Regions from separate parts of the Homo sapiens genome. Here all the other regions are linked to region 7. The links are contacts of gene promoters, found by promoter capture Hi-C in blood cells and fetal thymus (Javierre and others, 2016). All regions are on one chromosome and are shown on one strand. Each heading gives the region's core, a stretch centred on a gene start or on the middle of the fragment in contact. The rest is flanking DNA. Distances are from core to core; before and after follow the strand shown.

The links. Contacts are between HindIII fragments. The CHiCAGO score rates a contact against its expected background, and 5 or more counts as called.
Region 1: a contact is called between the fragment with the promoter of RAD54B here and the fragment with the promoter of RBM12B-AS1 in region 7, in 10 of 17 cell types (total CD8 T cells, naive CD4 T cells, non-activated CD4 T cells and 7 more). The highest score is 13.4, in total CD8 T cells.
Region 2: a fragment that was not itself captured here is called in contact with the fragment with the promoter of RBM12B-AS1 in region 7 in 1 of 17 cell types (activated CD4 T cells); the score reaches 5.0 in activated CD4 T cells.
Region 3: a contact is called between the fragment with the promoter of DPY19L4 here and the fragment with the promoter of RBM12B-AS1 in region 7, in 4 of 17 cell types (activated CD4 T cells, naive CD4 T cells, non-activated CD4 T cells and 1 more). The highest score is 6.9, in activated CD4 T cells.
Region 4: a fragment that was not itself captured here is called in contact with the fragment with the promoter of RBM12B-AS1 in region 7 in 1 of 17 cell types (non-activated CD4 T cells); the score reaches 5.1 in non-activated CD4 T cells.
Region 5: a contact is called between a fragment that was not itself captured here and the fragment with the promoter of RBM12B-AS1 in region 7, in 5 of 17 cell types (erythroblasts, fetal thymus, naive B cells and 2 more). The highest score is 13.1, in erythroblasts.
Region 6: a fragment that was not itself captured here is called in contact with the fragment with the promoter of RBM12B-AS1 in region 7 in 2 of 17 cell types (non-activated CD4 T cells and total CD4 T cells); the score reaches 5.3 in non-activated CD4 T cells.

What each region holds. Positions count from the first base shown.
Region 1 is chr8:94,473,697-94,476,396 of GRCh38, forward strand. It overlaps RAD54B (RAD54 homolog B), which reads right to left and starts at 1,419. Exons shown (of 15, transcript NM_012415.3): 1 at 1,305-1,419. RefSeq lists an enhancer at 1,152-1,381. The HindIII fragment of the contact is 4,488 bases long and covers 711-2,700 here.
Region 2 is chr8:94,454,859-94,457,827 of GRCh38, forward strand. All of the region lies in intron 3 of RAD54B (RAD54 homolog B), which reads right to left. Among named protein-coding and RNA genes, the nearest start is that of RAD54B, 19 kb to the right of the region's middle. The HindIII fragment of the contact is 675 bases long and covers 1,306-1,980 here.
Region 3 is chr8:94,718,395-94,721,183 of GRCh38, forward strand. DPY19L4 (dpy-19 like 4) reads left to right here and starts at 1,506. Exons shown (of 19, transcript NM_181787.3): 1 at 1,506-1,620. The coding sequence starts at 1,605. RefSeq lists an enhancer at 599-1,553 and a silencer at 1,314-1,633. The HindIII fragment of the contact is 11,065 bases long and covers 952-2,789 here.
Region 4 is chr8:94,525,214-94,527,931 of GRCh38, forward strand. VIRMA (vir like m6A methyltransferase associated) reads right to left here. Exons shown (of 24, transcript NM_015496.5): 8 at 1,010-2,150. Among named protein-coding and RNA genes, the nearest start is that of VIRMA, 27 kb to the right of the region's middle. The HindIII fragment of the contact is 220 bases long and covers 1,210-1,429 here.
Region 5 is chr8:92,964,708-92,967,460 of GRCh38, forward strand. It overlaps TRIQK (triple QxxK/R motif containing), which reads right to left and starts at 1,437. Exons shown (of 5, transcript NM_001171797.2): 1 at 1,300-1,437. RefSeq lists an enhancer at 644-753 and a silencer at 1,424-1,533. The HindIII fragment of the contact is 2,520 bases long and covers 219-2,738 here.
Region 6 is chr8:94,496,590-94,499,289 of GRCh38, forward strand. All of the region lies in intron 17 of VIRMA (vir like m6A methyltransferase associated), which reads right to left. Among named protein-coding and RNA genes, the nearest start is that of RAD54B, 23 kb to the left of the region's middle. The HindIII fragment of the contact is 3,367 bases long and covers 1-2,700 here.
Region 7 is chr8:93,738,822-93,741,521 of GRCh38, forward strand. It overlaps RBM12B-AS1 (RBM12B antisense RNA 1), which reads left to right and starts at 1,290. Exons shown (of 1, transcript NR_027259.1): 1 at 1,290-1,998. RBM12B (RNA binding motif protein 12B) reads right to left here and starts at 2,188. Exons shown (of 4, transcript NM_001377960.1): 1 at 2,060-2,188; 2 at 1,808-1,875. RBM12B-DT (RBM12B divergent transcript) reads left to right here and starts at 2,262. Exons shown (of 2, transcript NR_183450.1): 1 at 2,262-2,638. RefSeq lists an enhancer at 2,095-2,214. The HindIII fragment of the contact is 1,858 bases long and covers 385-2,242 here.

The DNA of each region.
Region 1 (2,700 bases), core at 169-2,668, 740 kb after region 7:
TGCAACCATCAAACGTCGAGGATGCAAGAATGTAAGTACACCAACTCTACCAAGAACCAGCAACGGTCTCTCCCTGCTGTTGCTGCTTGTCGACTTCCAACTACATTAGGTAGTAATTATTTCACTTCATGCCTTAAATTGCTCCTTTGAGACTCCGGCTATATAGATGGTTCCTAATTTAGGACGGTGTCACTTAGAATTCTTCGACTTTTAAGAAAGCCATGAGCATTCAGTAGAAACTGTACAAGTAACCACACAACCGTCTGTGTTCATGATTTTGCCCAACTGTAGATTAAGGTAAGTGTTCTGAGCATGTTTAAGGTAGGCTAGCGCAGCCATAAAAAGGAATGAAATCATGTCCTTTGCAGCAACATGGGTGCAGCTGGAGGCTATTATCCAAAGCGAATTAAAGCAGAAACAGAAAATCAAATATTGCATGTTCTCACTTATAAATGGGAGCTAAACATTGGGCATTCATGAACATAAAGATGGCAACAATAGACAGTGGAGACAACTAGAAGGGAGAGGAAAGGAGGAGCAAGGGTTCAAAAACTATTGGGTAACATGCTCACTACCTGGGTGACAGGATCAATCGTATCCAAACCTCAGCACCACGTAATATACCGATGCAACAAACCTGCACATGTACCCCCAAATCTAAAATAAACAGCTGAAAATAATTTTTTTGATAACAAAAGTAGGCTAGGCCAAGCTTTAATACTCAGTAGGTTAGCTGTGTTTTAAATCCATTTTCCATTTGGGATATTTTCAACCCCGTAGTAAGTCGAGAAGCATCTGTTCCTACCTAGAAAATCTTCCATAAGGTAATCGATTAAAAGGTTTTAAGGAAATACAAGAAAAACCTGACCAGTGAAGAGGTAAAAGCCCCTAAAGAAGGCGTACCGACACTCTCCAGGACGCTCGCAGAGCCTTCACCCCCTGGCCCTGGGGAAGGAAATTCCCAGTGCAGGAGTGAGGGAGAGACCCAAAAGCCAAGAGGAGCCTGCGCAAAGCGACCGCAGTGGCGGCCCCAGGGGCCACTGCCCAGAACCATCCCTCCCACACAAACGCACAACCCTAAACCCCCACCGCCCGCCCTTCGCTCCAAGGCCCCCGGGGCCAGCAACCAGGGCGTCCCTGGCACTTCAGACCAAAGCTGCAGGCCCGCAGAAGGCCACTTCGGTCGCTCCTGCCGCCTTCCCTCCCTCCTCCCTCGTTGGCCTGCTCCGGCGCCACTCCCTGCTTTGTCCCGCACGAGCCTACAGGCTGTCGCAGCCTCCCGAGCTTCCCCCTGCAGGACGCACCGGCGAAAATCTGACAGAAACCACTGGCCCTGCAAAGAAGTCCTTCTGGTAACCAGCTATCCCCTCGCCGCCGGAGAAGCTCAAGGATCCCGCCTCGGCGAAGCCAATCGCGGACGAGCCCGCCGCGCGTGCGCACTACCTAGCCGCTGCACTGCCCTGTCCTGCCCTACTCTGATTGGACGACCCTACTGCATCACTGCGCATGTATCTTTGCGTTTGGCTTTAAATGCTTCCAAGTTTGATTCAAGTTTACGGTTCAATTAAAAAAATACTGGTTTAGTGCCTACTTTCAGACACAGTGTAGATGCCGAGGCTACAGACCTCACCATCTGCGTGGATAAGTAATAAATACGGTATGATTCGGTGTGTGCGATAATAGAAATGCGTGCATCGCAGAAGTATACGATATCCTATTGGTTATTCATTCATCCGAAAAAACATTGACTTAGCGGTGCCTGCAGGATAATTTTCAAACTCTTTGTTAGGTTCTGGGAATATAGAAACGAATACGTGATTATTAGGCTCTCAGAAAAGGGGAGCCGCCTCCGGACTTGGAAAAGCATTAAAGCATGTTAAGTAGGAAAGTTACATCATTCAATGAGTATTTACTGAGCACCTTCTAAGTGCTAGGCGGTAACACAGTCAACTATCCCTGAAAAATGGTATTAGAAAGGCTAATCTGAAAGGAGAGAGAATGGCTAAAGGTTGTTTATTGAGTTTTATCCAGCAGTTTGACAAAAAGTAAAAGCTAAAAAATATCAAGGGTGAAATGAAGATGTGAAACAATGGGAACTCTTGGGCTGCTGGTAGGAGTGTAAATAGGTACAGCCATTTAAAAGAGTAATTTGAGGCTGAGAGCGGTGGCTTGTGCCTGTAATCCCAGTACTTTGGGAGGCCGAGGCGGGCGGATCACTTGAGGTCAGGAGTTCGAGACCAGCCTGGCCAACATGGTGAAACCCGGTCTGTACTAAAAATACAAAAATTAGCTGGTTTTGGTGGAGCGCGCCTGTAATCCCAGCTACTCAGCAGACTAAGGCGGGAGAATCGCTTGAACCTGGGAGGTGAAGGCTGCAATGAACCGAGATGGTGCCGCAGCACTCCAGCCTGGGCAGCAGAGAGACCCTGTTTCAAAAAAAAAGAGTAATGTGCTTAAGGAGCTTTTATCCTGGGGACTTTTTCCAGTCATAAAGAGCACCTCATAGGTTGAGTTGTGCTTTTGGCAGCTCCTGGAGCCAGCGTTACAAGAATTTGAAATGGGGACCTGCCAAGGTTGGGCACCTTAGTAAACCGCACCCCCCTCTTCTTTGGACTGGGACACATAAAGAGTAAGGGTAACCAGAAAACAAGCTAGCTTCATAGTGTCTGCAGCCTACCTTAATATCATCTGGGGAGTTCA
Region 2 (2,969 bases), core at 393-2,892, 720 kb after region 7:
AGAATATGCCCAACCATCTCCAAGGACCTAAGACCCACTTAAGAAACATTTAGCTAACTTCTCCAATGGGGAAAGATTTTTATCACTCCCCTGTTATACCTTTAATCTTCCACTCTTCACTACCTTTTTCCTCTCAGCCTACAACATACTACCTTAAAACAAAAACACAACAAAACTCTCTAGCCCCCTACCATTCCTCGAGATACTACTTCCTTCACTACCGAATTTATTTATTTACTTACAAACTTTATTTACATACTTACTCGCATTCACTTCCTCCACTGGCCTATTTCCATTCATCACATATCCATTACAGCATGACTTTTGTTCCAAAACACTTGTGAAATTATTCTCTCAAATATTACCAGAGCCTGCAAACTATAATGTTCCAATAGCCTCTTTGTGGCTACTTGACTTCCCTGAAGCACTCTGAAGCCAAAGACAGCCAAGAGACTCAACTAGAGAAAACTGTAAGTTTCTCAGGATCTCTTTGTTCAGTCACAAAACATTTTTAAATCTATATAGTTTGATTTAAAACCTTAACAAGAGAACATTCCTGCCTTTGCATGTCACAGTTTTGTGAAGGAGATTCAGGTAAACAGATAACAGAAGATGGCATAGTCTCCTCTCACAGTTCTTCAGAATGAGAAAGAATCAGAAAGAATAAAAAAACTTTCTCTTTTTCTAAAGAAACTATATAGCTCTGAATACCCAAGAGATCTGGGGCTTCCTGTATTTATTTCTGAGACTCCTGTAACAAACTGGGTGGCTTTAAACAACAGAATTTATTCTCCCACAGTCTGGAAACCAGAAGTCCAAAATCAAGGTGGCAGCAGGGCTATGCTCTCTCTGAAGGTTCTAAGGGAGAATCTTTCTTTGCTTCTTTCTAGCCCCTGGTGGTTTCCAGCAATCATGGGTGGTTATTCCAATCTCTGCTTCCACCATCACATGGTCTTTTTCCCTCTGTGTTTCTATCTCTTTCTTCATAAGGACACCAGTCATTAAATTTAGGGTCTATCTTAATCCAGTATGACTTTATCTTGATTACATCTGCAAAGACCCTATTTCCAAATAAGTTCACATTCATAGGTACCAAGGCTTAGGACTTTAACATATATCTTTAGGAGACACAATTGAAGCCACTACATTTCCCCTCTCCCAGAATTTGGTTTTTGAAAGCCCAGGGTCAAAAGTACTGAACTGGATTGTTCATGAAAAGAAACACCTGTGGAGCTTGGATCAAAAAAGATAGAAGTGGGTCCTATGGCCATTCTACCACAACCCCCAAAGAAATCACATTCCCTAAGCTTTGGGGGAAGTCATTAGTGGTAGACCTACATCTTCATTCTCACACAAAGGATATTATCTGTAAACACGCAGTGTTATGAAGAGACTCAAAGTGTCCCGTGAATTCAAGAAAGTGAAAATGTACTTATCAGGGCTCTTTCAGTTGAAAGAGAAACCAAACTGAAACTAGCTTAAGCAAAAATGACATTAACAATGAACTAAATATTATGAATTACTATTAATCCTGTTTGGTATAATAACAATGTGTGGTTATGCAGGAGAAAACATTTATTTCAAGAAATACACACTTAAGTGGCTAGAGGTAAAGTGGCATGATATATGCAACTTATTTTCAAAAGGTTGAGGGGAGTGCATCTACATAGAGAAAAAGAGAGAAAGCACACAAATGAGGCAAAATGTTAGTAACTGGTGAGTTTAGGATGTTAATTGCGTCATTCTTTCAACTCGAGAGTTTGTAGGCATATTTCAAAATAAAAAGGTGATGGGGAAAATGACATATGTTATTTAACTGGGACATACAGATTTGTAGTTCATTTCAAGGTGGATTAGATCAAGAATGAAAAAGATGTGAAAGGGTGAGTGGATACTAAACAGGTCTCTCATCTCTATGCTTTTCTATATGCTACATCCCTCTCCAACAATCCACCATAGAGAACAAAACATTTCTCACAAAGCTTTTTTCCCCAATTTAACCTCTTTCTGAACAAGAAACAGGAGGGTATCAGGAGGTTGGCACAGGTTCTCCAGTCCACTGAATGTACTAATCAGAGAAAGGATTACGGGATTAGGAGTTGAGTAAGTTAACTCCCTCTTTATTTTATCTTAACTCTTAACTCCCTTCTCAAATTTAGCAGGGAAGAGAATGAGAAACTATGGTAGAATACAAATAAAGCCCAAGATTAGTAACATAAAAGGTATTATATTCCAGAGTCTAAATGTCATTTTCTGATGAAGAAATTAGAAAAGAACTGGGCATACATGGATCATTTTCTACCTCGGGCTTAAAGTAGAAAAGAAAATCTGGGAAAACAGAATAGTCACCTAACAAGGATGGAAGCAAGGAAGGAGGAAGTGGGGAAAATAGGGAGGAAAGAAGGGAGAGCAAGTCAGTAAGATAGAGCAGAGCTAAACTGCCATGCCCAGAGCTGTTCCTAGGGATCTTCCTATACTGAATCAGCTCAAAAAGTCTTTCTCCACCTTGTTCTGACACCAGTCACAGCTTTTGAAAAGTTATGAGGAGCACATAAATGGCACCAAGATAATGGCCAGTTAGGTAAATACAGAATTCCTTTCTGTCCGGACAAGATACAAACCCATTCACAGGTAAAATTCATTAATCATCAGGAAGTCCAAGAACTTCCTTCAAAATGGTGCTTAGGGCACTTTGTTGATTTGCACTGGTATCATAAGGATGGCAGTTACTATTCTGTAGCCCAACAGATGGGGCCGGCTGGCTGAATCTGTTCATTCAACCAAAACATGAATAAAATGTAATTTGGAAAAATACAGTCTAATGATGGCTTTCACAAGACCAAATAAACATCTATGAACCATCTTAATTATTTTTTTAGTTACCTAACAAATAGTGTTCTCTTACATATACAAAAAGAACCATAATCATTATTTTAACTCAGTTCAACAATAGAGGGATGGAGCATTTG
Region 3 (2,789 bases), core at 256-2,755, 980 kb after region 7:
ACTGTTTCTAACTCCTGGTAAAGTGTTGTTTTAAGGCAAAAAACATCTTTACGGGGAACCAGACATAAAAAGAGTTCCTGGAGGCCCTGCGTGGTAGCTCATGCCTGTAATCCCAGCACTTTGTGGGGCTGAGGCCGGTGGATCACTTGAGGTCAGGATTTCAAGACCAGCCTGGGCAACATGGTGAAACCACACCCCTCCACTTCTCTACTAAAAGTACAAAAAATTATCCGGGCGTGGTGGTGGGCACCTGTAAACCCAGCACTTCGGGGGGCCAAGGTGGGCGGATCACTTGAGGCCAGGAGTTGGAGACTAGCCTGGCCAACCAACATGGTGAAATCCCATCTCTACTAAAAATATGAAAATTAAGTGGTGGCTTGCGCCTGTAGTCCCAGCTACTGGGAAGGCCGAGGCACGAAAATCGCTTTAACCTGGGAGGCGGAGGTTGCAGTGAACCTAGATCGAGTCATTGCATTCCAGCCTGGGCGACAGAGCGAGACTCTGTCTCAAAAAAAAAAAAAAAAAGTTCCTGGAACCGTTTCTGCACATCACTGAAAAATGATAGCCTCTCCCCAAATATCCTAACTTAAAGGTGCTATTAGGAGAATCTTGCTGCCTGCTAATAATGGGGTGTCCATAATTACCCCATGACTTCAGTGAATTCTCGTGCCTGTTTCTCCCGATCTAAAATGGGTATATTTCATTTACTAAATTTACTTCTGAGTACTGTTGGGGAAAAGATCCCGGTGTTTGTTGAAGAATGCTAGATATAATGAAAGTTAAACACAGTTTAACAAATTAAAATTATTCCCTATTGCTCTGTAATATCTAATTGCACACTGCTCTACCCCAGACCATTGTATTATCTCCCCGCCCCCCCCCCCAGAATATCATGAAATGCAACATATTTGCTAAACCAGTTTTGGTGATTTAAAACAAGTTCCAAGCACAAGCTTCTTTCTTGTAATGGTCAAGTGGCCTACGAAACCAAAGCGCCAACTGAGAACGTTTTGCTGCTGCACTCTGAAATCCCAGCGAGAACGCAGGCAGCGATGGCAGTTCTGGAGCACCGGGTTCCACTTCTGCCTCTGACCGGCTTTGTGACTTCCACCACATTAGATCTGAGTTTCCTCCATGTAAAATGGGGCGGGAATGGAGGCTGGACCTGGGAGGTGTCGCTGATGATCGTCTCTGACTCGCTAAGTCGCGGAGTCACAAAAGTGGCGGAAAGCATGCCCTCACTTTTTGGGAAGAGTAGGACGAGGGGCGGGGCTGCAGCGAGACCCACCAGTCTCGCTTTCCAGGGCAGGCGGCGGCCAGGAGCTACAGCTGTGGGCTGCACTCCCGGCGTGGAGTCTCCTTCCTGCCCGCGCAGGCCCCGGCGCCCCAGCGAAACGCTCCGGCCGCTCCCCTCTCCCAACACTCTGGTTCCCGGGCCGCCTGCGGGGACGCGGTTGGCGGCGACACCGGAGGGGGGTGGGTCAGGAAGTGGGGGCGCGGCGGCCAGGAGCGGGCCCCCGGAGGCCGAGGGGTTCGGCGACGCGGAGGGAGGGAGAGTCTGGGCCGCGCGGGAGCCGCAGGGCGCCCTAGCCTTCGCAGAAACGATGGCGGAGGAAGAAGGTGATTGCCGCGGGGTCCAGCGCGCCAACGGCTGCCAGTGGTCTCGGGAAGGAGGGGCGGGGGCGCTGGAGGTCTGGGTTGGAGCTGCTGGTGGCCGCGGTCGCGGTGGCGGCCGCGCGGGCAGGGCGGGAAGGAGCGCGGCGCCCAGGAGAGGACTGCGGAGAAATTCAGGAGAGCGGAGCAAATGGCCCGAAGTTTTGTCGGCCGAATTGGGAAGCAAAGGTGGAGCTGAAAGTTGGGAATCCGTAGCAAGAGAGAAAGCTGTGCCGGGAGTGGTTGGGAAAGAGGGAGGGTCCTGATCAGATTCTTGGTGAAGTGGGAGGCGCAGTTTGGTTTCGAAGATCAGGTTTAGGTACTCAGTGCATATTTGGAATGCGATTTTTAAAGGGCTGTGGATATTGACAAACCCAGAGGCACAGGGGGCGAGGGAACATTCACCACGGGGATAAAGAGGCAGGGATTTGGGATAAACGTGGCAAGATTAATTGGGAATGGGCGAACACGCAGAAACTGAAGAAAGCCAAGTTCACTTAGGTTCAGGGGAAAATGGTAAAGAGCAGAGCCATCTAATTATTATAGTTTTGGGAGATGATGAGGCCAGGAGGCCTTTGAGGGTCAAAGTGGGTGAGCTGGAGAAAGGTTTCCATGCCGCCTTCAGGATCAATGCTAAGATAAGTAATTCATTCAGCAGTATTTTATTTATAGAAAATGATAAGTATGAGACAAAAATGGGAAGTTAGATGAAACTTATCGGTTAGTGATAAACAATACAAGGAATACTCATGGCATAGTAACTTCATGATAACCCCTACTAGTTTCAGGAAGTGAGAAGCAATTAGATTTTTGCATTCTGGTGGAAAACACAACTTTTTACCTTATGAGTGGAGCTGTGGATGTGATAGTAAATCGATCTAATTTAGACTCAAGCCCCCCTGCCTTTTTTTTTTTTGAAACGGAGTTTCGTTCTTGTTGCCCAGTCTAGAGTGCAAAGGCGCGATCTCGGTTCACCGCAACCTCCGCTTCCTGGATTCAAGCGATTCTCCTGCCTCAGCCTCCCTAGTAGCTGGGATTACAGGCATGCGCCATCACGCCCGGTTAATGTTATATTTTGAGTAGAGACGGGGTTTCTCCATGTTGGTCAGGCTGGTCTTGAACTTCTGACCTCAGGT
Region 4 (2,718 bases), core at 70-2,569, 790 kb after region 7:
AGAGTTGGTAGACGAATGCCCAGCCTGAATGTTTTAGGAGGATAAGCAGGAGATACACTTTAACCAGTTCTTCGGAGGATCCCCAGTAGGATGAGCCCCAGCTGTCCACAGCAATAAGTATAATAACACTTCCTTTACTGGTTTTTCTCCTTATCTTACTCTCTTCAGGCATTTCTGCTTCCTAGGATAATCTTTCAAAGAACCTGCACCCAAGACTTTGACTCAAGTTATCCTTTTAGGAAACTCAAAACTAAGACAAGGTGTAACAGTTTCAGCTAAAAACAGGAACTTGGATAAGTGGAGGTTTTAGACTGGACACATATCCCATCCCCTGGGAATGCACTATGCTCCATCCAAATCAATGAAAATATTAATCACAAAAATAAGTAATAAAATAATTCAAATGCCATTTTTCCATTTTTATGTTAGGAAATTATTTACAGGCAAATGGTAAGAAAGAAAGTCTCAAAACAAAATAAAAAATCTACTAGGGATGCTGGTCCTAACAATGGCAAAACTGTATCAACAGATGAGAGAGGTAGATGGCAGAAACAAGTAGTAATGGAAACTTAAAGACATCTTTAACCAGCACTGTAAAATTAAGCTAGTAAAATATAATTTTAACTTACAATGTATTAAGAGTAGTAAGTACAGATGGGTTCACACAGAAGAGCTCTCCTTCCTACACCATTCCTTTGTTACCACCTTCCCAGAAGCAAGTCAGCAGTTTCTCATTTATTCTTGCTCATAGACATGCTTATACAAGCATCATTGTTAATTACTAAAATCTTTCACTGAAGTTCCCATTTTTGCTTTAAGAACTAACACAATATAAGCTCACCCACAGTAACATACTTCTCAGTTCCACTACTAAATAACCGTTTTGAAATATCAAGTATCCTTACACATAAATAAGTTACCTACAATCAGATAAAAAGCAAAATCAACCACATAAAATTGTCTCCAATGATTTGTGAAATTTATTTCCCAAAAGGCAAACATGTCTTACCTAAAGAGAACAGGGTATGGATCATCCCTCTCTGGAGGTCCAGTAATTCGTGCCATCGTTGGGAAAGACTTAACAGGTTGTTGGATCATTGTATGAGGGGCAGTTTCCATTAAATGAAAAACTTCTTCTAGGAGGTTAATAAGCCTTTCTATTTCCCCTTCACTTATATTTGAGGATTCCAAAAGATCCATATCCATAGAAGCTTCCACCTCATTTTCATATTCTGGGTTTGTTCTCTCAAGTCCAGCATCTGTGTCGTGATCAGGTTCACTGTGGTTAGGAAGAGATGAAGTCTTCTCTGCTAAATGGTCACCAAGTCTTTTAATCTCTGACAAGACTTCATAGAAATGGCATTTTTGGAGAATAGCTGAACCAGCAGTAACAACCCTCACAGTCTGATCTAAAAGTATGAGTTCCAGAAGCTTTTGATAACCACTTTTTTCATTCTGCCTACCTCTTAAAAAAGCTTCCATTCCTTCTGTCATACTAATGACACTGTCCAAAGCTTTAAAAGCATTTAACTTAAGAGAAGATGATACGTGATCAGCAAACAGAAGTTCAAATAATCCACTGATCACTCCTGCTTGTAGCAGTCCTGTAACTCCTTGAGCCCCACATTCTGCTAGTGAGGACACTAATTTGGTCCCAGCTTTGAGCTGTCGAACATTTAAGGCGATAGGTTGGCGAAGCGCTACTTGTAAATTTAAAGCTTGCATGGTCCAGTCTACCAACTGGCCAAGGGAGTCTTGTTTTGTGTTTTTCAATTGCAAATAGCTTAACCCTTTTATTATTAAACTTGGAATTTCTTCTAAAGCTGTTACCCATTTTGCACCTCTATCTTCTCTATACAAATCTAAGAGTTCTGTTAACTTCACTGAGGCTTCGATTGCCCCTGAATTTTCTTTATCTGGACCTTGATCCTTCATTCTACTGATTTCAATTTCAAAAGTAGTCTTGTATGGACAACTGAAGTATAAGAGTGGTACAAGCTCCCTGTCATATGGATCATATGTCATAGGAGGAACTGAAGCTAAGTCTTCAGCAGTGTATTCAACATCAAAGTTTGGATACTTAAATGTTTCACGTTCCAAGTCAGCAATTCCATCTTCATCACTGGAAATTTGTTCATAACCATCATCCCCTGAAAATTAGTATGAATAATATTTAAGTATTACATCATCTTTGTCTAATACATAAATTCTGATTGAACAAGAAATAGTTTTAATAAAACATTAAAAATGATTTCCTCAACAAAACCAACTTCTGCCCCAACATCTTACCCACAATTTTACAACATTTTATAATTTCTAATAGAATTATGGACAAACTTCTTTTTTTCCTGAAAGGGGTGAGACCTGAAAACTGGACAAACATTTTAAGCAAATTCCTCTGTATCTGTTCAGTTTTACAACTAACTGTAACAGATATCTTTTCCTCACAGAAATATAATTAGAAATGCCTCAAAGTAACAAAAATATCTATCTCAGGAGGAAAGAAATTATGCTTGTCCTCTTGAGAGATTATTTTTAAGACCAAAAAAAACTGGTTGTTTTAAGTTAAGTAAGAACTAATATCATCAGGTTAAACCAAATACTTTCAGCAAAACCATTGTAGATTCGTTTTATAACAATTTCACATTCCAGAATTTTTATTTCTCTGCATTTACCTATCACACAGTTTTGTAGGTCTCCATTATATTTTGATAGAAA
Region 5 (2,753 bases), core at 229-2,728, 770 kb before region 7:
AAAAGTGTAATCAATAATGCTTTACATTTGTGTGGATCATTACTTTAATGATACTTTCACAACCAATTATTCCTCCTTTTTTAGGAAGGAAGGGCATATCCTAGAGTCTCCAATTTACAGATAACGAAACAATTATTGCCCAAGGACAAACATTTCTTAACCATGCCAGTTTCCTGACTTGTAGGCCAATGCTCCTCCCAATGTTAACAAGCAGCACAAGCTTCCTTCCTGGGGGTTTGCACTGTAAACCTGCCAGAGGAAAATAAAAGATTTTTACCTCTTTTGTTTTTTCTCTCTGGAATGTTTGTTGTGCTGAATCATTAGGAGACAGAGTATATGAGCAAACAAAGGCAGATTTAAAATGGTTATCTGAGGTTACCATCTCACACCATACTTGTTGATCATTAAGTATGAGCCGAGTGAAGCAAAAACAGCTCTACAGGTTTAGCACACCTCTCCACAGTAGAGAATGAAAGGGAGATTATACATTGGGGCTCCTCTAGCAATAAATTGCTTCAACTTCTTCAGGAGGCTTATTAAGCTCAAACAAGCAGCAGAGAACTCCAAGTAGAAGAAACCTAATCTCCAATCCCCTTTTCCTAGTCATCCACGCGGACACCAACATCTGATGGATTCAGGAATACACCAAGCTCCAAGAAAAATACCCCCGCCCCACAACCTCACCACCACCGATAAAGCCACCTAATCCTGTCTGAATCTCTTCTCTGCAAATGTTTTGGTATGCAAATACTCGTTCATTAATAAGAGGAAGCAGGAAAAAGAGTGAAGAGGAGTACCATGGGAAAGGGGGCCCCAAAAGGGAACGGCAGAACCCAGAGAGCTGCACTGACAAGTAAGCGACCGCGAGTAATCGGTCAGCACAAAGGAGCCAATCCCGAGCCGCGTGGAAGACCTTGGGAGGTGGGCGGGACTAACGTGTCCAGGGCCCAGCGGCTGGCGCCAGACACGCTGGCAGGGCGGGAACCGCGCGTTCCTTAGCAACCGCAATGGCCACGCCCACCGAACCCAGCACCCTCCATCCCCCATCCCGCAGCCAGCGCCCTACTCAACGGGAACGGGTCCTTCAGTGATCACCGTACCTACTGGGTTTCCCGGACTCCGGGTTTCTCTTGCAGAGCCTCCCTCCGCCCAGCCCCACCAAGTGCCGCTCCCAGGGACGGAACGATCGTCTCCCAAACGCTTTAGGGCTCGCTAAAGAGGTGCGCCCGCTTTCATTCCCGGACCCCGAGCTTCCCGGGCAGGGTCTCCCCAATCCCCTCGCACTCGCCGGACACACACCTCAGCTCTGCCAAGGCAAGGGCCGACAAACTTCGTGTCCTGTGGGAAATGTTGCTGTCCACGGTTCTGTCACTCAGGGGCAGGGGCGGGACAAGCCAGCCGCACACCCCTACTCCCAAAGGGTGAGGCGGAAAAGAGGCGAGGCTCTGCCCCCAGGGGCGGGACCAGGCCTCAGCCTGCTCTCGGATTGGTCGGCCTTTCTCCCGTCTGTACGCCGGTCCAGGACGCAAAGGCGCTGGCCCTGAGGCCTTTCCCTCATTTTGATGCCACTCCGGAGTTCTAATACCTGTCTCACGAGGTGACTGTAGAAATTAAAAATAAAGACTGTGACTTGTTTAGTTAATATAAAACGGAAAAATATGTTATTTTGATTATTGAACCCTCCCATCTCACACACACACACTCCCCAATTCACAGGATCATCCCTAAGGAGCGTCCCTAAGTGGAAGGGCGCACTGTCTGTGTAAACAATCAATTAATTGCCCATTCAAACAGCAAAAAAGAAAAAAAAATCGTTTTATATTAACATTAACCAGAGATTAATAAATTTAGGAAAGATTGCAAAAACGTGACTGACAATTAGGATTTAGGAGCCTATGTTCGGGTACTCAATTTTCACATCTACAAAATGGGAATGAAATATTAAGATGTTACTTATTGGAAAAGTATTCAAATATTAAATGCTTTATAAATTATACTCATGTAATCCTTACAAAACCCACTAAGAGTATTATCCACAGCCTATGGACAATGAAACACAGGCTAGGAAAGGCTAGATTTATTCAACCATTCAACAAATCTAAGTGCCTGCAGCCATCATTTTTTAATATTGTGGTGAACTAAATCTAAAATTCCTTCAAAAAATTATGCAACCTCCAATTTAATTTTTCTCTTGCTCACATAAAAGTCACCTTCCTCTAGGCCAGCCCCATCATATCTTTTTCCAAAAGCCCTTGAGAAAGAAAGTAGCATACAAAAAAAAAAAAAAAAAAAAAACTGAGACAAGTATAAATAGACTAACCAGAAGGCTTTCTGAAATCTCACAGAATATTATGGCCAGGAATTGAATCCAAAATGTAATTTTATTTTCCGTCCTCCTAAATCATTTTCTGGTCTCCAGTTCCTCTCCCAGAAATAAAGGTAGAGTTAAATGAGATTATATTAATACACTTAACCAGATTACTTATGTGTGTGGCTTTAAAATAGTGAAACTCTTTTTCCTTCCATATTAAACCAAAACCCAGAAGGGTTTATCTTGTCTGATAGATACGGTTGTAGTAAGAAAAAAGAAAAAAAAAAAGAGTACCTCTGGACAAGTGCCTTGAGATTCAATTAAAATGTTCATCGTACTGTGATGCAATTGTTGGAATAAAAGAAACCCATTCCAATTACAAATAATTTTACACTCTTGACCTGCTGAATATCCAAATTCTTCTGAAAGCTTGCTAAATGTG
Region 6 (2,700 bases), core at 179-2,678, 760 kb after region 7:
TTCATTTTTACATCAGTACAAATGGCTAGTTTTAAGGATTTAGATGAAAGGTGAAGTATGTTTTCTTTGAGTAAGACTCACAAAATATTTAAATAAGCAAACATATATTTTACTGGCACCAAGACTTTTCAACAAAATACCGAATGGCAAAACACTGGCAGTTGTAGGACGTGACACACTGATTGATGCTCAAGAATTAATAAAATGCTTGCTATAACAAAGAACTGATGAAACCTGAAATTATCTTTCTGAAGATAACACAAACAACTAAAGAAAATAGTAACTATCATATTTAAGACTATATTCTGTCACATAGAAAAGTTAATATTTTCTGCTTTAAAAAGTATGCTACATAATAAAGTGAATTCTGGAGTGATAACATTTCAATACCAGAAAATCCTTCCAGCAAAATAAATCTTGCTTCATGATAAGAAAACCATCCATATTGTCACATACACTTATGGTAGAGGGCCGTATGCCTACCTAAACATTGTATAAAATCTTTAGCCTTGTTTTTTTGTTGCTGTTGAGACAGGGTCTCGCTATGTCACCTAGGCTGCAGTGCAGTGGCACAATCATAGCTCACTGCAGCCTTGACCTCCCCAGGATCAAGTGATCCTTGCATCTCATCCTCCCAAGTACCTGGGACTGACTGCAAGCACGTGCCACCATGCCCAGGTAATTTAAAATTTTTCATATAGATGGGGTCTCACTATGTTACCTAGGCTAATCTCAAATCCTGGGCTCAAGCAATCCTCCCACCTCAACCTCCCAAAATGCTGAGATTACAAGTGTGAGCCACCTTGCCTAACCTGTTTTTCTTTCTTTCTTTCTTTTTCTTTTTTTTTCTTTTTTTTGAGATGGAGTCGCACTTTGTTGCCCAGGCTGGAGTGCAATGGCGCAATCTCAGCTCACTGCAACCTCTGCCTCCGGGGTTCAAGCACTGGGATACAGGCATCCACCACCAAGCCCAGCTAATTTTTTGTATTTTTAGTAGAGACGAGGTTTCACCATGTTGGCCAGGCTGGTTTCGAACTCCTGACCTCGAGTGATCCACCCACCTTGGCCTCCCAAAGTGCTAGGATTACAGGAGTGAGCCACCATGCCCGGCCTATTTTTCTTATTTTAAGAGACGAGTTGGCCAGGCATGGTGGCTCATGCCTCTAATCCCAGCACTTTTGGGGGCTGAGGCAGGTGGATTGCTTGAGCCCAGGAGTTCAAGACCAGCCTGGGCAACATGGCAAAATCCCATCTCTACTAAAAATACAAAAATTAGCCGGGTGTGATGGTGCACATCTATAGTCCCAGCTACTCAGGAGGCTGAGGTGGAAGGATCACCTGAGCCTAAGGAAGTCAAGGCTGCAGTGAGCCATGATCACACCACTGCACTCCAGCCTGGGCACCAGAGTGAGACCTCGTCTCAGGAAAAAAACAGGGAGAGAAAGAGAGTCTCACTCTTTCATCCAAGCTGAAATACACTGGCACGATCATAGCTCACTGCAACCTTGAACTCATAGGTTCAAGTGATTTCCCCAACTCCGCCTCCTGAGCAGCTGGGACTAGAGGCACATGCCACCAAACTAAGTAAGGCAGGCATATTAATGGCTTCTGGAATTGTGCTCATAATATACCATGACTTTGGAAAATACTAATGAGAGAAATCTTAATTAAATTTTAACAATAAGATTTTAGAGTGGGGAAAATAATCTTTAATTCATATTTGTACGATAGACCAAAAATACTAAAGCATAATAAACTTTACAGTTATCCCAAAATCACAACATCCAAAACAATCAGTAAATTAAGTAACAAAAATAAGTAAATAACAAAGAGACTAACAAAACTTCATTATTCTGAGTTGCCCTAGCAAGGTAACTCAATGTCATAAATTTTTTTCTTTTTTGAGACAGCGTCTTGCTCTGTCACCTAGACTAGACTGCAGTGACACAATCATAGCTAAGTTCAGTCTCCAACTCCTGGACTCAAGCTATCCTCCAATCTTAGCCTCTCAAATAGATGGGACTACTGGTGGGCACACCACGTGTGGCTAATTTTTGTTGTTTCTAGAGACAGAGTTTTGCTGTGTTGTACAGGTTGATCTCAAACTCCTGGGCTCAAGCGATCCTACCACAGCCTCCCAAAGTGATGGGATTAGAGGCACGTGCCACCACACTCATCTAAGAATTATTTTAAAATGAAAGCACTTGGCCAGGTGCGGTAGCTCATGCCTGTAATCCCAGCACTTTGGGAGGCCGAGGTGGGCAGATCACCTAAGATCAGGAGTTCAAGACCAGCCTGGCCAACATGGTGAAATCCCATCTCTACTAAAAAGGTACAAAAAATTAGCTGGGCATGGCGGCAGGTGCCTGTAATCCCAGCTACTCAGGAGACTGAGGCAGGAGAATCACTTGAACCCAGTATGTGGAGGTTGCAGTGAGCCGAGATTGTGCTACTGCACTCCAGTCTGGATGACAGAGTGAGACTCTATCTAAAATAAAATAAAATAAAATAAAATGAACTAAAGTGATCTTTTTTATGTTGGATATTTAATATATAAAGTGATTTAACTTACGGCAAAGTATTTCTCTTTTTTTCAAGACAGGGTCTCACTATTTTGCCCAGGCTGGTCTCAAACTCCTGGCCCCAAGAGATCCTCCCACCTCAGCCCACCAGAGTGCTGAGATTACAGATGTGAGCCAT
Region 7 (2,700 bases), core at 40-2,539:
ACACTTAAGTACCACTGTTCCCCAAAGTGGGGGTCTGAAGATACATTCACTGAGGTCTGTTTTCCTTTAAAAAAGGGTACGTAGATTAACCAGAAGCTAAACTAGCAAAGACATCAAATTACTTCACACATTCTACATCTGAAAAATATTAATCAGGTTTGCTATTAAAGTATTTGCACAGTAACAAAAAAAGAAAAAAAGCCTATTTTCTTCAACAAACCAATATCCATACTAACACTTCAACAAAAACTACAAATGGCTTCTGGAATACTTACTTTATCCATATTAAAGTCCCAAGACTCCCTCCTATGCAAATTGGCTTAGCTACTCTTTTTAAGATATTTTAGAAAGCACCATAAGCTATACATATTCTTGTCTCTCCTAAGCTTTTAAAAAAATTTTAACGGGATTTACCCTGGGAACATAAATTCATCTACAAGAGAAATTAGAGACGTTTCAAGGAATAATTATATCTCAAATTCAAAAAAACTCTAGTAATTTATCCTACCTCACTTAAAAACTATCTTTTAACCAAGTAGTTTCATGAGCACAAATCTCATGAATTCCAATTCAAGCAGACTATTTAGAAAGTTTATTCTCATTTGCCACAGTTAAACAAAACTAATGCTTAAACTTCTCTACCCTTGAGACAGTAGGGTAATGTACCATTTATGCCTCTACAATAACACACCTTGGAGACCAACTGTAAGAGACCAGCTCTCAAAATGGGCACTTCTGTGGTTCCAACATGCTATATTTCCTTAAGCAAATTCTCCAGAAATTCAACTCTTAACACACTAAATTACACAAAAGCAAAACACGAAAATTACCCTCAAGTAGTCTGCAATTAAAATTTTGCGTTTTTCTAGTTATGAATGCAAAAAGTATTTTTGTGCCTTTGTGTTCATTTGAAGACAATAATCTGTTAAAATTTCTATGAAAAGAAGAGTGGGTCCCTAAAAGATCACTTAAGTCAGTGAAATTTAAAGCGCATTTTAAATAACTGCTATTTTTATCCAACGATTCATCCCACTTAATCACCATTATAACTAAACAATACGTAACGTGCCTCTTCTAATCAAGACTTAAGGGGATACAGAGAGGGAAACGGGAGGGAGACAGAATTTAAATAAGTAATATCTCATCAGATCCATTTGATTTTTAACTAGCGAAGAAAAAGTCATTTTCCAGATATGGTGAGGGAGAGAATTTTTTTTAACTCTGCGACTACTTCGTAAAGCCCAAGGTCATGATGTAGCATATTCACACTCTAAACGTGAGTTTCCCCTGCAGAAAATAATCTACACCAACCCATAATTATTCTTTACGATGATCCACCTTTTATAATGTAGATGTTTAAAATAAAAACCAAAGGAATGACCAATGAGAGCCACAGTCCCTAGGAAGAACTGTAAATGAAGACGAATCCACATGGCACAGGATTTCTCCCAACATCCTCAAACGGGAATCATCCGAAGGCATCGATTCTACAGCCCAAAGCCTTTGTCCACAACTCCCAGGGGTCAGAGCTTCCTTCTTTCGCGCCAGGCCAAAGTTGCTACGTGGGATCCGATGTTGTCGCCAGACTTTCAGCCAAAATCAGCCTTCAAATTAACCTGGACCGCCCAACCTCCGTGCCTTTCCGTTACGCCGTCTCAAGGGCAAACATTCCACCCTAACTCGCCAGAGGGTGAACTGCCCCCAGATCTAACTGAAAACACTTGCCCTTCTCAAGCCTAACGAGCTGGGCCTGCAGCGCTTTTCTGCCACCACTGACTACGATGACATAGCAAAGAAAAAAATATACCTATGAAATCCTTCGAGATCTTCACTCTCAAGATCCCTGGGAAGCGCACATACACCACCACATGGAAGCTGACGGGAAAGGAAGAGTCGGTGTTTTAGCAAGAAAAGAGGGTGCCCTAACGGCAGGAGCTACGCTAGATACTGGCGCGGCCGCCGGTCCCGCCTTTCCCCGTTCTTCCGGCTTGGTCGCCCAGCCCTCCCCACCCCCGGCGCCCCGAGGGGAACTGCTTCGCACTTGGCAATAAACACACACCACTGCTGCCGAGTCGGACACACAAGGCCGGAGGCTGAGGGAACTCTTCGTCGCAGCAGCCTCCCCAAAACAGGTAGACCCTCAGTGAGCCCAGAAGAAGATGGCGCCCACTGCCCCTCCGGTCCGGACAAACGGACGTACGGTTTATCTGCCCATGCGCTCTGCAGGCGCAACCCACCACCAAGCTTGCGCACGCGCGCTGCCGCTCACCCGTTTCCCCTCGCTAGAGGAGGGGAGGCGGAGCCCCGGGGTTGGCTGAGCTTCTGCGCATGCCCAGATTCTGCCCAGCCCAGGGACCTCGACTTTCAACGGGAGAAATTCAGAGACACATTCAGGGCTCAGCCGGTAGATGTGCTGAGAATCTTCGGTAGACAACTGTCGAAGTACGGCGGACAAACTTTAAAGATTTCCAGAAGTTAAGGAAAGAGATGCAAAAGCAGAGAAAAGGCGACTTGTCTTTTCAGTGTTGCATTACTGTGTGGCGTAAAACATCTTCTAAAAAGCTCCTGTGGCCGGGCACGGTGGCTCACGTCTGTAATCCCAGCACTTTGGGAGGCCGAAGCGGGCGAATCACTTGAGGTCAGTAGTTCGAGACCAGCCCGCCCAAAAAGCGAAACCCCCGTCTCTACTAAAAATACAAA